Linked DNA regions of Homo sapiens: region 1 is linked to region 2. Evidence: promoter capture Hi-C in 16 types of primary human blood cells and fetal thymus (Javierre and others, 2016). All regions are on one chromosome and are shown on one strand. Each heading gives the region's core, a stretch centred on a gene start or on the middle of the fragment in contact. The rest is flanking DNA. Distances are from core to core; before and after follow the strand shown. Region 1 holds the start of FBXW9 (F-box and WD repeat domain containing 9). Region 2 has its middle 6.9 kb from the start of ZNF69.

Region 1 (7,060 bases), core at 2,382-4,881, 810 kb before region 2:
TTTAACTCAAGGCCTGGGGCAGGGGCGTTTAATTGATGATGACAGAGGACACAGGTTTTTGCCAGCAAAAAGGAAAACCAAGGCTTGGTGGAAGGGAAAGGTGGTGTGTCCCCTGTTCCCTATTCCATCTCCCTGGGACTTCCTGCTCATCATAGTACCCAGTGAGCCCAGAGATCCTACTAGACTGGGTCAGCAATTCTAGAGAACCTTCCGGAATAGTCTGGGAACATGGTCAAGGTGGAAGGGGCTCCCCTAGAGAGGGTGGGGGTGTAGTTACTTCCCAGTTGGCCAGAAAACTGGGCCTTGCAGACCCCCTTAGCATTTTTTCCCTTTTTTTCCTTCCCTGCTTTCTACTTCTTTGGGGAGCCCCTTGTGTTTTGGAGTCTGACTGGAGTCTCGCATCCTGGGGCCTGCTCCATCCATCCCTCCTGGGCGCCAGACCCTCCATCCAAGCCCTGTGTCTTTCCATAGTCAGGGTCAGGCCCTGCATCTATTCCAAGGGGCACTCAGTACACATTCCATAAATTAGCTGGGTGTCCCTGCACGCCCACCCCATGAAACTCGAGCAGGTCTCTGGAAGCCATTTGTTAAAAAAAAAAAAAAAAGTTTTAAAAATACCTTTTAATTTTCTGGTAATTCCAGTTCTTTGAAGCATCCTCTGCTGGGTCTTGGGGTGTGTGGATGGATTGGCTGTCTGATGGGATTGGTAACCCCTCGCTACTCAAGATGGGGGGATACAAACACCTTCAGGGAAGGGGAGCCTGGTTCTTCTCGTTTTCCTTTTTTTTTTTTTTTTTAAAAAAAAACTATTTAATTTTTTAATTTATTTTTGGTTGTTTTTTGCACAATGAAGTTTCAGCTTCTCAACCTTCTCCCCTACCCAGGGCTGTGGACCCAGACTGGCCTTGAGCCACAGTCCCTCTTTCCCTCCTCACCCTCTTCCCCCTGCGGGCTCCCGGGTCTGTCCATTTGTTACTGTGCTGTGCTGGGGATTGGCGCCGAGGTGGCGTGAGATTCCACTTGTGTAGAACTTTGTTGAGTAAAGATCAGTTTCTTGTGAACTCCTTAGTCTGTGGCTTCCTGTGTCCTTGGCTTTGGTAGTGAAGAAATGTCGGGGGCACCGGGGATACTTGAGAGTGGGAAGATAGACGAATGTGAAAGATGGAAGATTAAATTTGTAACATATATGAAATGTGCAGCTCATTCTCTGGGACTTCAGCTCACTAAGGGTGAGCCATTAGTGTCACAGCCCAGGTTCAAGATGCCCCTCTGCCGTACTCTAAACTGAGTGGTAAGGGGTGAGGCCTTGCCGCACTCTTATCATCAGCTGACCCTGGGTCAAGGTTTTCATAGAAGGTTCAGCCCAGCCCCAGGCCGAGGGTAATTTAATTAATATTAGTTACAATTACTCAGGCAAATGAGAAGTAGTTTCAGCTGTGGGGGGAAACCACAATCTTCAGAATAAAATCTTTCTTTTTTTTGAGACCGGGTCTTGCTCCGTCACCCAGGCTGGAGTGCAGTGGCGCAATCATGGCTCAGTGCAACCTCAACCTCCCTGGCTCAACCAGTCCTCCCACCTCAGCCACCCAAGTAGCTGGGACTACAGGTGCATGCCACCATGCTGGCTAATTTTTGTATTTTTTGTAGAGGGGGTTTTCGCTATGTTGCTGAGGCTGGTCTTGAACTCCTGGGCTCAAGCAATCCACCTACTTTAGCCTCCCAAAGTGCTGGGATTACAGGTGTGGGCCACCGCCCCCAGCCAAAATAAAATCTTACTGCAACCTTGGTGTGGCCCAAAGACCAACGTGGGAAAATTTAAAAATACTGACACACATCCAATATTCAACAAATAAGTCCTGCATTCTAGTGAGAGGATAGAGTATAAAAAGTGGAACTGTGCTAAGTCCTATAGAGAAAAACAGGAAGGCAGAGAGAATGGTGGGGGAAACGGTTGAAATCTTATGTAGGGTGACCTGCAAAGGCCACACTGAGAAGACGATGTTTGAACAGAGCCATGGAGAGAAGAGTGTCAAGTAGAGCAAACAGCAAGGACTGCGCAGATGACCTACGTGGATTGGTTAGCTGCCTGGCTCAAAAGAGGCTTGCAGTAAATACCTGCAGTTTTTTTGTTTGAGACGGAGTTTTGCTCTTGTTGCCCAAGCTGGAGTGCAATGATGCCATCTCGGCTCACTGCAACCTCCGCCTCCCAGGCTCAAGTGATTCTCCTGCCTCAGCCTCTGAGCAGCTGAGATTACAGGTGCCTGCCACCACACCCGGCCAATTCTTTGTATTTTTAGTAGGAAGGGGTTTCACCTTGTTGGCCAGGCTGGTCTTGAACTCCTGACCTCAAGTGATTAACCCACCTTGCCTCTCGAAGTGGTGGGATTACAGGCCTGAGCCACCGCACCCGGCCAACATGCTGTTTTAGTAAGTGTGATGTTAGGCCGGGCGCAGTGGCTCACGCCTGTCATCCCATCACTTCGGGAGGCTGAGGCGGGCGGATCACGAGGTCAGGAGTTTGAGACCAGCCTGGCCAACATAGTGCGACCCCGTCTCTACTGAAAAATACAAAAATTAGCCAGGAGTGGTGGCGCGTGCCTGTATTCCCAGCTACTCTAGAGGCTGAGGCAGGAGAATCGCTTGAACCCGGGAGGCGGAGGTTGCAGCCAGCCGAGATCGCGCCACTGCACACCAGCCTGGGTGACAGAGTGAGACTCCGTCTCAGAAAAAAGAAAAAGGTAGCTTTCCACCAGGCGCGATGGTTCACGCCTGTAATCCTGGTACTTTGGGAGACCAAGTTGGGGGCGGATGGCTTGAGCTCAGGAGTTCCAGACCAGCCTGGACAACGTAGTGAAACCCTGTCTTTACAAAAGAATACAAAAATTAGCCGGGTGTGGTGGTGCGCGCCTGTAGTCCCAGCTACCTGGGGGGCCGAGGTGGAGGATCACTTGAGTCCAGAAAGCGGAGGTTGCAATGAGCCAAGCACTCCGCTTGGAGGACTGAACTGCTGTCCTCCAAGGTTGGGTTGGGGAATGGGGTCTGGAGAGGTAGTTCTGAGGCCCCAGTTCCTTTCTCAAAAAAAAAAAAAAAAAAAAAAAAAGTCACTTAACTGATGCCTCTGCAGTGTAACTGCATATTTCTGGCTCTGGGAAAAGAGGCAAGAGTTCCAATCTCTACTCCTTGAACTCGGAAAGGGGCCTTTGGGTTTCTAAGCTCAGTGTCACATATAACAGATGCCTTCGTTAAAGCAGTGTTTATTTTATGTCTAATTTAAAGAGACAGGGTCTCACTATGTTGCGCAGGTTGGAGTACAGTGGCACAACCATGGCTCACTGCAGTCTCGAACTCCTGGACTCAAGGGATCCTACCCCTTCACCTTCCTGAGTATCTGGAACTACAGGCGCGCGCCACCCCGCCTGGCTTGAGTTTCGTTTTTAGCTAGAGTTGGCTGGCTCTCGGTATCGGCTAGTTTAAAAAGCGCAGAAACAGGAACCTGCATTTTCCAGCCTAAGGCCGACGCAGTTGCAAGAGACCCTGTAAGCGGGGCGATGTTCTGTATTAAGCCAGTGTCTGACTTCGTCGCTTCCGGTGGGCGCATAAACGTCATCAGACAGCGCCGGAAGTGCCCTCGTGCTGCCTAGGAGACAAGACGCGAGGCCGGCAGCGCCCACCCGGTCGCAATGGAGCTTCCCCTAGGGCGGTGCGATGATTCCCGCACCTGGGACGATGACTCGGACCCAGAGTCAGAGACAGACCCAGACGCGCAGGCCAAGGCCTACGTGGCCCGCGTTCTCAGTCCGCCAAAATCCGGGCTGGCGTTCTCGCGCCCCTCGCAGCTATCCACACCCGCCGCGTCCCCGAGCGCTTCGGAGCCTCGGGCCGCGTCCAGGGTTTCGGCCGTAAGTGAGCCGGGCCTTCTGAGCCTTCCCCCGGAGCTGCTGCTCGAGATCTGCTCCTACCTGGACGCCCGCCTCGTGCTCCACGTCCTGTCGCGGGTGTGCCACGCGCTCCGCGACCTCGTGTCTGACCATGTCACCTGGAGGCTACGCGCGCTACGCCGCGTACGCGCGCCCTACCCAGTGGTGGAAGGTGCGCGGGGCCGGGGGCCGGGGACCGGGGGCCGGGGGCGCCCGCCCAGGTCAGGCTTGGGGCGGGGAAGAGGTACATGGGGTGTTCCGGATGCAGCCTCTGGTGCAGGCTTCGTGGCTGTCCTGGCTCAGGCTGGAGGCTAAGGTAGTTACTGGTGGTGCCGAAGCCCCTGAGGACCTCTGGGTGGACCACGAGGCAGTCAGGCACTTGGGGTCCTGAGGCTGTGAAACCCTAACATGGGGCTGTGGTTCCTGGACGACTCAGGATCCAAATATCCTCAGTCTTGGGGTCTTGTGGTACTAAGCCACTGACCCCTGATTGGGGATTGACACAGGGACTTGAAGTCTTAGGCTCTGGAGTTTATGCTGGGGCTCAAAGTGAGCCCAAGGATCCTCAGGTTCTGAGTCCAGCTTAGAAGCTGAGACAGCACCTGTTGATGTCAAAACTCCTGAGCCCTAGAGCCTTGACCCAGTTAGGGGTGAGACAGTGGCTCTTGGCCCTGAGTTGATTGGTTCCTGAGGGAAGACAGCTTGGGACCTTTGAATCGATATTGTTGATCCTGATACAGCTGGATCCTCAGGCCCTTAAGCCAAGATGTATTACAGCTTGGGTGTTTGATACCCTTAACCTGGAAGCTTTGATTCTGCTTAGAGAGGAATCAGGATCACTCCGGGATCAGTGATTCTCAAGGTGTTGCCATCCAACCCCCAGGTCAGACTCTCCCAAACAGCTTAATAAACATAGATGCTTGGACCCCGTCCATATCACAGAATCTGCATCTGGGGCTTGCATTCTGCATCTTGACAAGGCTCCCTGGTTTCCAGATACTGTTTGAGAAACAGCCCCCTTGGTCTGGTTCAGATGGCTGAGGCAGGAAGGGTTAGTCATGAGGTCCCAGCTTCTATGCTGAGCCTGAGGTCAGACCTCAACATCCTGAGACTGCTCTGCCCTGAGTTTGGGTTGGGGGATGGCGCCTGGAGAGGTAGTTCTGAGACCCCAGTTCCCAATTTCTGGAAATTGGAGTGAGTAGTCCTAGACCTGCCTGGGAAATGGGCAGGCAGGTGGTCCCAAGACCACAGCCTGGGTCGGCTTGGGGTGGGAGTAGGGATCTCCATGGGGTTCTGTCCAAGTCTGGTGTAGTGTGGGCTCCCTGGAAGCCAGGGTTGGGCTTGGCCAGCTGGCATGGGTGCTAGGGTCCCTGCCCACTGGGCACCCTACTCGTGGTAACCCACAGAGAAGAACTTTGACTGGCCGGCAGCCTGCATTGCGCTGGAGCAGCACCTGTCCCGCTGGGCAGAGGATGGGCGCTGGGTCGAATACTTCTGCCTGGCCGAAGGCCACGTGGCTTCCGTTGACTCAGTGCTGCTGCTCCAGGTGAGACGGGGTCTGTGGGGGGCCAGGCAGGGTGGGCCAGGGTGGCCCTGACAACATCACCTTGCTCCCTTTCCAGGGTGGGTCACTCTGTCTGTCGGGCTCCCGAGATCGCAACGTCAACTTGTGGGACCTGCGGCAGCTGGGGACGGAGTCCAACCAGGTTCTGATCAAGACCTTAGGCACTAAGCGAAATAGTACCCATGAGGTGAGGAGTCAGGTGGGGATAGGAGGTATGAGGCCTGAGTAGGGCATCTTGGTTAAGGCCCCAGGTTTTGGTACAGGACCGCATAGATTTGAATCTGACTTTTCTAACCTTGGTGTGACTTTGAGTGAGATGTGTGACTTCTCTGTGCCTCAGTTTCTACTTCTGTCCAGTGGGTGATTAGGATGAGGATGAAGGAGATGCATTATGCATTAATGTGGACATGCATTAAGCTCAGGCTTTTTTTTTTTTTTTTTTTGAGACGGAGTCTCGTTCTGTCACCCAGGCTGGAGTGTGGCATGATCTCAGCTCACTGCAACCTCTGCTTCCCGGGTTCAAGCGGTTCTCCTGCCTCAGCCTCCTGAGTAGCTGGGACTACAGGTGCATGCCACCACACCTGTCTAATTTTTTTTTTTTTTTTTTGAGATGGAGTCTCACTCTGTTGCTAGGCTGGAGTGTAGTGATGCAATCTCGGCTCACTGCAACCTCTGCCTCCCAGGTTTAAGCAATTCTCCTGCCTCAGCCTCCTGAGTAGCTAGGACCACCATGCCCAGCTAATTTTTTTATTTTTGGTAGAGACAGGGTTTCACCATGTTGGTCAGGATGGTCTCGATCTCCAGACCTCGTGGTCTGCCCGCCTCAGCCTCCCAAAGTGCTGGGATTACAGGCATGAGTCACCTGGCCTTTATTTATTTATATTTTTATTGAGACAGAGTCTCCCTCTGTCACCCAGGCTGGAATGCAATGGCATGATCTCGGCCCACTGCAACCTCTGCCTCCGGGATTCAAGTGATTCTCCTGTCTCAGCCTCCCAAGTAACTGGGATTACAGGTGCCTGCCACCATGCCCAGCTAATTTTTTTTTTTTAATGGAATCTCACTCTGTTGCTCAGGCTATAGTGCAGTGGCACAATCTCAGCTCACTGCAACCTTGCCTCCTGAGTAGCTGGAATTATAGGCATGTGCCACCATGCCCAGCTAATTTCTTTTGTGTGTGTGTGTGTGTGTGTGTGTGTGTGTGTGTGTGTGTGTGTGTATATATATATATATATATATATATATATATATTTTTTTTTTTTTTTTTTTTTTTTTTTTTCCTTTAGTAGAGACGAGGTTTCGCCATGTTGGCCAGGCTGGTCTCAAACTCCTGGCCTCAAGTGATCTGCCTGACTCAGCCTTCCAAAATGCTAGGATTACAGGCATGAGCCACGGTGCCCAGCCAAGCTCAGGCTTTGACACACAGTAGGTGCTCAATAGACGTCAGGTACACCTTGAGAGGCCCAGTGTAAAGCAGTTATGAGACTACCCTTGGAGATCAGCCAACTCTGAGCATGACTGTCATCTCGTGAGAGGTGGCTGTGGAGGAGCATCTCCACCAGTCGCTAAGGTGGTCAGG
Region 2 (7,382 bases), core at 1,404-3,903:
AAAAGAGCTACCATACAGCCTATGCCTGGTCGGCTGAAGGGCTATCCTAGTGGAAAGGAAACAGTCTGGGCCTCTAGTCTGCCATGCATACAAGCGTAACAATTGCTTTTGTTCAATGTGCGGACGGAATATTGAATCCATTCCAACCAGGTATTTACATCTTGATATCCTGTTTTAATTGCTAGGGTTTGTCTTAAATCTTTTACTTCTACAATATTTACTTTAGTAGTATCATTAGGTAGAAAACAGGTGGCAGTCTGATTAGAAGAAAGCTTAGAAGGAGAAGAGAAGGAAGGGGGTGAAGAGAATGAAGGATTAATAAAACGCATTTCGAAAGATCTTATGAGGTCTGTGCTGGCCAAGTTGGCTCCTGTTCCATAGAAGTGACTTAAAGTAGGTTTAGGGTCAGTAGAGGTGGAAATTTGTATGGGATTACATTGATTATACTGGCAATTGGGGAGGTGCTTTTTTTAGTGAAATGAATGTATGGTTTTAAGGATATACAGCCACCTGCTGATGAGGTCTAGCCTTGACATTTGGTTGTCCATAGGACATCATTCTAGCTATGACAGACTTGTTTTCTTATATTTGTTAAGGAACAAGAGTCTTGGTAGGGGGGGCCTTTCACCTTAAAGGGGCAGAGATACTTTTCTGAGGCTGAGACTTGTCTTTGACTTTGGAGATCTTTACAGGGTATGACTAGACATAGCATTAAACGTGATAACTTGGGGTGAGTTTGATTGAGTTACATTAATGACAAGGTGGTCAGCATTGGAAGGGGAAAAGAAGAAAGAGTAATAGAATAGATGTAAGAGGTTAAATTTTTCTTAGCTTTAGTTTGAGGGGGTTTTCCCCTGGAATAATGGCCTACGACTTTGGGGGTGGCGGTGCTTTCTTGACTCGGGTGTGATGGGTCTATCCTTTCTCTGCTGTCCAGACTGCAGTTTCAATGGTGGGAAGTACTAGGCCAGCTCCTCAGGCCGGTGTTGACGCACTGGGAACTCCAGGAGCCGCACCTGTACTGGAAAATTGTGAGTTTTGAGGGAAGAGAAAGTGGAAGATAAACCAAGTATGTAGGAATGTTGGCAGTGGATTGCTTTGAGAGGTAGTTTGGATTAATAGGAAGACAGAAGACATTTGAGTTATGGCAACTAAGTTTCTAGACTTGTTTGGCTAAGGATGTACATTTTCATACACATATAAACTTTAACTGTGCTATACATAGCTTGAGGTCTTTAATGGGTCCTCTAATTTAGGTGGGATAGGACTTCTTTCATAAGAGGTTTAAATAACATTTGAATTCCCTTCAGTGCCTACAGGAGAAACGGCAGCTGGTTCGGATTATCTGATTTGCTAGGTTATTTTCTTAACTCTTGAAAGATAGGATTTTTGGTGCCTGGGGACGTGGAAAATAGCTTTTTTTTTTTTTCTGGTAACTGAAGGTTATTTAACACTTGGGTTATTAACTCTTCATGAACAAGGCTTTGACCTTTATTATTGTCTGAAATTTTCTAAATGTATGAGCCACGATAAAGGTGTATTTAGAATCAATATAGATTAGTATAGATGGTTCCTTTGCAGTTACTTTAAAGCTTGACTAAGTGCAAACAGCTTACAAATTTGGGTAAACTATTAAACAATTTTTAAATTTTATTTCTCTAGGAACTTCTCTATTTATTATTGAACATCTGTTGAATCCTTTTTCCTTTAATCATTTTTGAAGGGGGTTTCTCTTAAGTTTGGCCGGACATTTGTATGGTAATCAGTTAAATCTAAACATGTGTGCTTCCTTTTTAGATTTGGATCTTTCGTTAAGAAACTTGTTAGGTTAAGCAAATTACTAGTAACATTAAACTATCATTTTTAACAGAATAGCCTCATATTTATACACATGTAATTCTTTTTTGGTGGTACATTTTAACATAGGTGACTTTAAAGAATCAGAGTTCTTTTCTGGTGGATATTTTCACTTTTAACACTGGCCTGACTATAATAAATGCTAGTGGATATATCCGCTGAAAGATTATCTACTTCTTGCTCAGGAAACTTAGCTGCGGGGATGCCAGGCTGCTTGGAGCCATCGCTGAAGCCCCGTATTACTTAGCCTCAGCAAAGTAAGGCAGATATCCTATAATGTAGTTTGCATGGGGCATAGGCTGGGGCCTGGCTCGCATGTCATGCAGAGCTGCCGTCAATACAGTGCCAGGACCTTGGACCAGCCAGTGGGCAGGAGCATGGGCTTTGCCGCTGCAGGGGTGCACTATGGGCCAGACAACGCTGACAACATGTTGCGGCAGATCCTTCATGTTGCTAGCCTGGCAAAAGCCATCTGGTGAATTAGGAGCTTGGAGTTCTTTAGGGGAGAGGGACTTAGGCTGGGGAAGAACAGACTTACTGGGCGATGCCTGAGGGGAAGGGTTGGGTATTAGGTGGGGAATGGTCTAGGGGATCTTGCGAGTTGTTCTTTTTGCTAGGATCCCCCAAGCCCCTTCCTTCACTGTCTTTTTCATTAAAGATGGTTCTATCTTAATAGGGCACATGTACAACTCATTTTCCTCCAAATATTAGTTTTTGACTTGCTCCTTTCAATCCTTGGAGGAGGGGAAAGGACAACTCCTTGCAACTAACATAGGGCATAATTTGTTTCTTCTCAGGAGGCAGGTCTTCTACTAGCAACATTTTCTATTAGAAGTTCACAAATCCATCCCTCATTCGACTTAAATTCTGGCCAGAAAACTAAGGGTTCAAGGATTCGTTCTTGAGTCTAAATGGAACAGCAATATTTTATCACTAATTGCTTTTTCTTATGTTTAGTCTTTTCATTATCTTTCTAATGTTTTAACATGAGACCTAGGGGACTATTAGGGGGGATATCTTTGTTGCTAACTTTGTCTTTTTTGCTTGTAATATTTCCTATACTGGGTCCTGGCTAGGCTCAATCCCTCGTGATAGGAATCTCTTGCCTAGGGGGGCTTGCTGTGGCTCAACCCCTCATATTAAGGATCTCTTGCCTATTTTGGGGGTTCCTTGTGGCTCAGCCTCTCAAATTAAGGATCTCTTGCCTATTTGGGGGGTTCCTTGTGGCTCAACCCCTCATATTAGGAGGTCTTTTGCCTATCCCTCACTGGAAGTGTGGCTAAGGCTCAATTCCACTATCCTTTAGCTCCACCTGCTGGAGGTTCCTTGCACCCTTCTTTCGCTTCATCCACTCTGGCCGCTTCCCTCGCAGGTTTGTTTCAGGTTCCTCTTAGCATTGATGGCAGGTCCGTATAAACCTGTGACAGGACCCCCGCAGGGCTGCCCTAAGCCGTGTGAGGTGACCACAGAACCGCAGATTGGACTCACTCGCTCCGCACAGCAGTAGTGCTTGTTACCATTCATGCACTTTCAACCCCCAGAATGCCCTGACACACCCCTCCGACTACCAAAGAATTACTTTGTTGCCCCTGCAACGTTTCCCACCTTGGTCTGTGCACAGAGTTTACCTGGTCGCTGCGGTATTGCAAGCCTCTCTTCCCCGCGTTGCTGAGAGTCCGGGTTTATTCGTCAAAATGGGTGGGTCTCGATCTCCTGTCCCTGAGGCCACCGCAATGGGGCAGTGGGACGCGTCTCCCCAGGGTAGGGTGACTGAAGAACTCTTCCAAAAGGAGCATGGGGATCTCGGACGATCCCCTAGAATTGTTGGATATAAAATGCTCCCGGAATAAAAGCTTGGTGCCGTGAAGTAAAACCAGCACTCAGGCAAAATTTTAATTCTCTCAGCAAGGCAATTTACTACTGCAGAAGGGTGCCACTCACGTCAATCAAGATCACAAGAGCACAGAGAACAAAGGAGACCAGGAGGTTTTTATCCTTAATGCGGTCCCTATCTCTGTGTTACTCCCCCATGGGCTGGGGTCGGACCGCACAGTCTGAGCTGACCCGATTGGCTGCTTGTACATATTTTTCTAAATATAGAAGGGGAGGGGGATGTGAGGTACAGAGGTGGAGCATGTGAGATGTGCAGTTTTGGGGGAACAATGGGTACAGGTAACCAAGGGAACAGATGTGAGTTATTGATTAGAGCTGATGGGAACGGGGTAGGCTGTTTTAAAGTAACTAGGGGCAAGGAGGAACAGGAAAGTTGAGTTTGAGAACAAAAGACGAGGAAGTTAGCAGGCTAAATCTTTAAAGAAAAACTTAAAGAAATTCACTGTATCTTACAAATCTGACCCCAGTGGCCCCATGCATGTCAAACCCCAAACCCTGCCCAGAAGACAGCCCCAGGCTCCAGAGGTACAACACCAGAAAGGACAGAACCCCCACACATACGTGTGCATGTGGGTCTTCTGCTTTCCAGGGCTCTTCAGCTTCTCGGAATCCGCACTCCTTCTGGAGCTGCTCTGAGCAATTGGAGGCCACCTGTAGGGGAGGGCGGGCTGCCCGGAAGCCCCCAGGAAAGGCTCCTTTCCCTTCCTTTGCAGGCTCCACACTGGCCTCAGCGTTGAGTCACCGGCCTCGGGCTCTGCTGCCCCCTGCAGGTTATTCAGCTACTTCTCACCCCATTGATCAGTTCCATGACACAAACACCCTCAATCCCATTGTGTGAATAAGACACCAGCAGAGTCCCTGCTCTCCTCCTATGTTTATGTATAAAGTGGGGAAGGAAAATTCTAAGATAACTTAAGTGCATTTAAAAGATTTCCAGATCGTGGTGGAGGTGGCAGCTGAGGGACGCACGTTCAGTGACACTGCAGTACCTCCGGGCCTGGCTGGTTGGAGAGAGGGTGGAGAGCTGGAGATGAATGTGGATATATGGAGGGAGCAGCCCTGGGAACCGGGCTCTGCAGCAGCGCGGCTCTAGGGCCTGGAGCCCGGGGGAGCAGAGATGATGGGGGCTCCTGGGACAGGACGCTTGGGGAGAAGAGAGTCAGGCGGTTTCCATGGGACAGGGGTGCTGTGGCAGCTGGTGTGGGCCTGTGGCTATCATAACTAAGCCCGATTGGGACGTGAAAACTTGGATTCCGTGGGAATTTATGAAGAGGAAGGCTCTGATGACAAAGAAGTCATCGATGAGGAGAGGGATTAGGGTCACTGGCAAGCTCGCCCCCTTATGGAAAGAAAAGTGAACGTTCAGCTACTGCGGCAAAATGGGGTCAAAGGATGAGACTCTCACTGTCAGGGAATAAATTGCTGCAGAACTCTTAGAGATTGCAAAGACCTTCAAACAACAGCCTGGGAGGCCGGGTGCCATGGCTCACGCCTGTAATCCCAACATTTTGGGAGGCCAAAGTGGGAGGATCGCTTGAAGCCCGAGATTGGAGACCACCCTGAGCCGTGAAGTGAGACCCTCCCATCTCCATAAAAAATTTTTAATTACCAAGGAGAAGTGTGTGTACCTACAGTCTCAGCTACTCAGGAGGCTGAGACAGGAGAGTCACTTGAACCCCAAAGTTTGAGGCTGCTGTGAGCTATAATTGGGTACTGCGCTTCAGCAAGACACTGTCTCAAAACAAACAAACAAAAAATTAAAATCCCACCAAACTCCCTGGGGAAACCCTGTACCCCTTTGATGGTCAAAGTGTAAAATACAGCAGGTGGTGACATTTCCTTATGGACTGGATCATTCTAGCCACGTAAGAGGCTTGGCCTACTGAAGATTTACCAAGCGGGATCACCTCCTTGCAGTCAGTGGAAAAAGCCCCCGGTGAAACCATCCCTTTAAACTTTATCAAATTCATCAGGGAGGATGGGAGGAGGAAAACTTAAACCAAGCTTGCGGCACCTTCAGCATTAATCATCAAGTCAGCTTGTTCTCTGACCTTCCTCATATTTGTTTCATACCTAGTGTCCTAGAATCCCATAGACCCTAAATGATAGTTCCCGTTAACTGCTCTATACATAACAATTTGAACATTAGATATTTTCCCTTATAAATATTCCTTTTTGAGTTCTGGGTGCATTGGTTCATAACTGTAATCTCAGCACTTTGGGAGGCTGAGGTGGGAGGATCACTTGAGCCTTGGAGTTCAAGAACAGCCTGGGCAATAGAGTGAGACTCCATCTGTACAAAAAATTTAAAAACAGCCGGGCATAGTGGCATGTGCCTTTACTCCCAGCTACTTGTGAGGCTGAGGCAGGAGGATCCCTTGAGCCCGAGTTTCTACAGTGAGCTATGATCCCACCACTGCACTCCAGCCTGGGAAACAGAGCCATACTATTTCTCTTAAGAAAAAAAATCCAGACATTTGTTGGTCTTTGGATTATTGGAGAGCATTTATCTGACACTTAGCCCAATGTTTTAGAAAGGGGCACTTTGGGACTGGGACACAGCTCTGAAGGAAGCTTTGGACAGGTTAATGTGTTAGTATGGCAGGCACAAGCCTCAGGCACACCTTTAGAGGGTAGAGCTGTGACTTGGGATGATATAGTTGCTGCTGAGGGTACAATTTGGGACTTACGGCAACCACAGTGTGGTAAATCAGTCCCTTTAGGATTGTGGTTGTAATTATGACATGGAGATGAAACCAGACACTCTTGAGTCAGTGCAGGCAGTATATAATGCTTTCCAGCAGGTGGAATCCTTAAGAAAGAGCCTTTGCATGACTGTGAGAATGGGAGTACCATGCCCAGCTAATTTTTTTGTATTTTTAGTAGAGATGTGGTTTCACCATGTTGTCCAGGCTGGTCTTGAACTCCTGAGCTCAGGTGATCCACCCGCCTCAGCCCCACAAAGTGCTGGGATTACAGGTGTGAGCCACCGTGCCTGGCCTCCCACTAAGTTTCTTTCATTTGCCCTGGCACAGTTTCTCATGCCTTAATCCCAGCATTTTGGGTGGCTGAGGTGAGTAAATCGCTTGAGCCCAAAAGTTTGGGCTATGACCACACGGGGCAACATAGGCCTAGTCTCTATTTTTATTAAAAACAGAATATACACACACATATGAATGAGAGGCCGAGTGTGGTGGTTTATGCATGTAATCCTAGTGCTTTGGGAGGCCAAGGCAGGTGGATCACCTGAGGTCAAGAGTTCGAGAACCACCTGGCCAACATGTTGAAACCCCATCTCTAACTAACAGTACAAAAATTATCTGGATGTGGTGGCACGCACCTGTAAACCCAGCTACTTGGGAGGCTGAGGCAGGAGAATCACTTGAACCTGGGAGTCAGAACTGGCAGTGAGCCGAGATTGCATAATTGCACTCCAGCCTGGGTAACAGAGCAAAAACTCCATCTCAAAAAAAAAAGCAAGAAAAAAAAAAAAGAAAAACTTTCTTTTTAGTCCCTAGTTGGTAGGCTATCACTAATATCACCAGCAGTTGTCTATGAGGCAAACCTGTTCTCACAATGGGTCCAAAAGGAAAAGTAGATTTGGAGACATTACAGGTAGATCCAAATGCAGC

Evidence for each region. The method cuts DNA at HindIII sites, captures the fragments that hold promoters and counts their contacts. A CHiCAGO score of 5 or more calls a contact.
Region 1: the fragment with the promoter of FBXW9 here is called in contact with a fragment that was not itself captured in region 2 in 1 of 17 cell types (endothelial precursors); the score reaches 5.3 in endothelial precursors.

What each region holds. Positions count from the first base shown.
Region 1 is chr19:12,693,202-12,700,261 of GRCh38, reverse strand. FBXW9 (F-box and WD repeat domain containing 9) reads left to right here and starts at 3,631. Exons shown (of 10, transcript NM_032301.3): 1 at 3,631-4,089; 2 at 5,324-5,463; 3 at 5,540-5,668. The coding sequence starts at 3,681. It overlaps TNPO2 (transportin 2), which reads left to right. Exons shown (of 26, transcript NM_001382241.1): 26 at 1-1,061. RefSeq lists enhancers at 3,302-3,361, 3,672-3,721. The HindIII fragment of the contact is 5,165 bases long and covers 1-4,726 here.
Region 2 is chr19:11,877,185-11,884,566 of GRCh38, reverse strand. No RefSeq gene overlaps it. Among named protein-coding and RNA genes, the nearest start is that of ZNF69, 6.9 kb to the left of the region's middle. RefSeq lists an enhancer at 3,067-3,246. The HindIII fragment of the contact is 2,118 bases long and covers 1,595-3,712 here.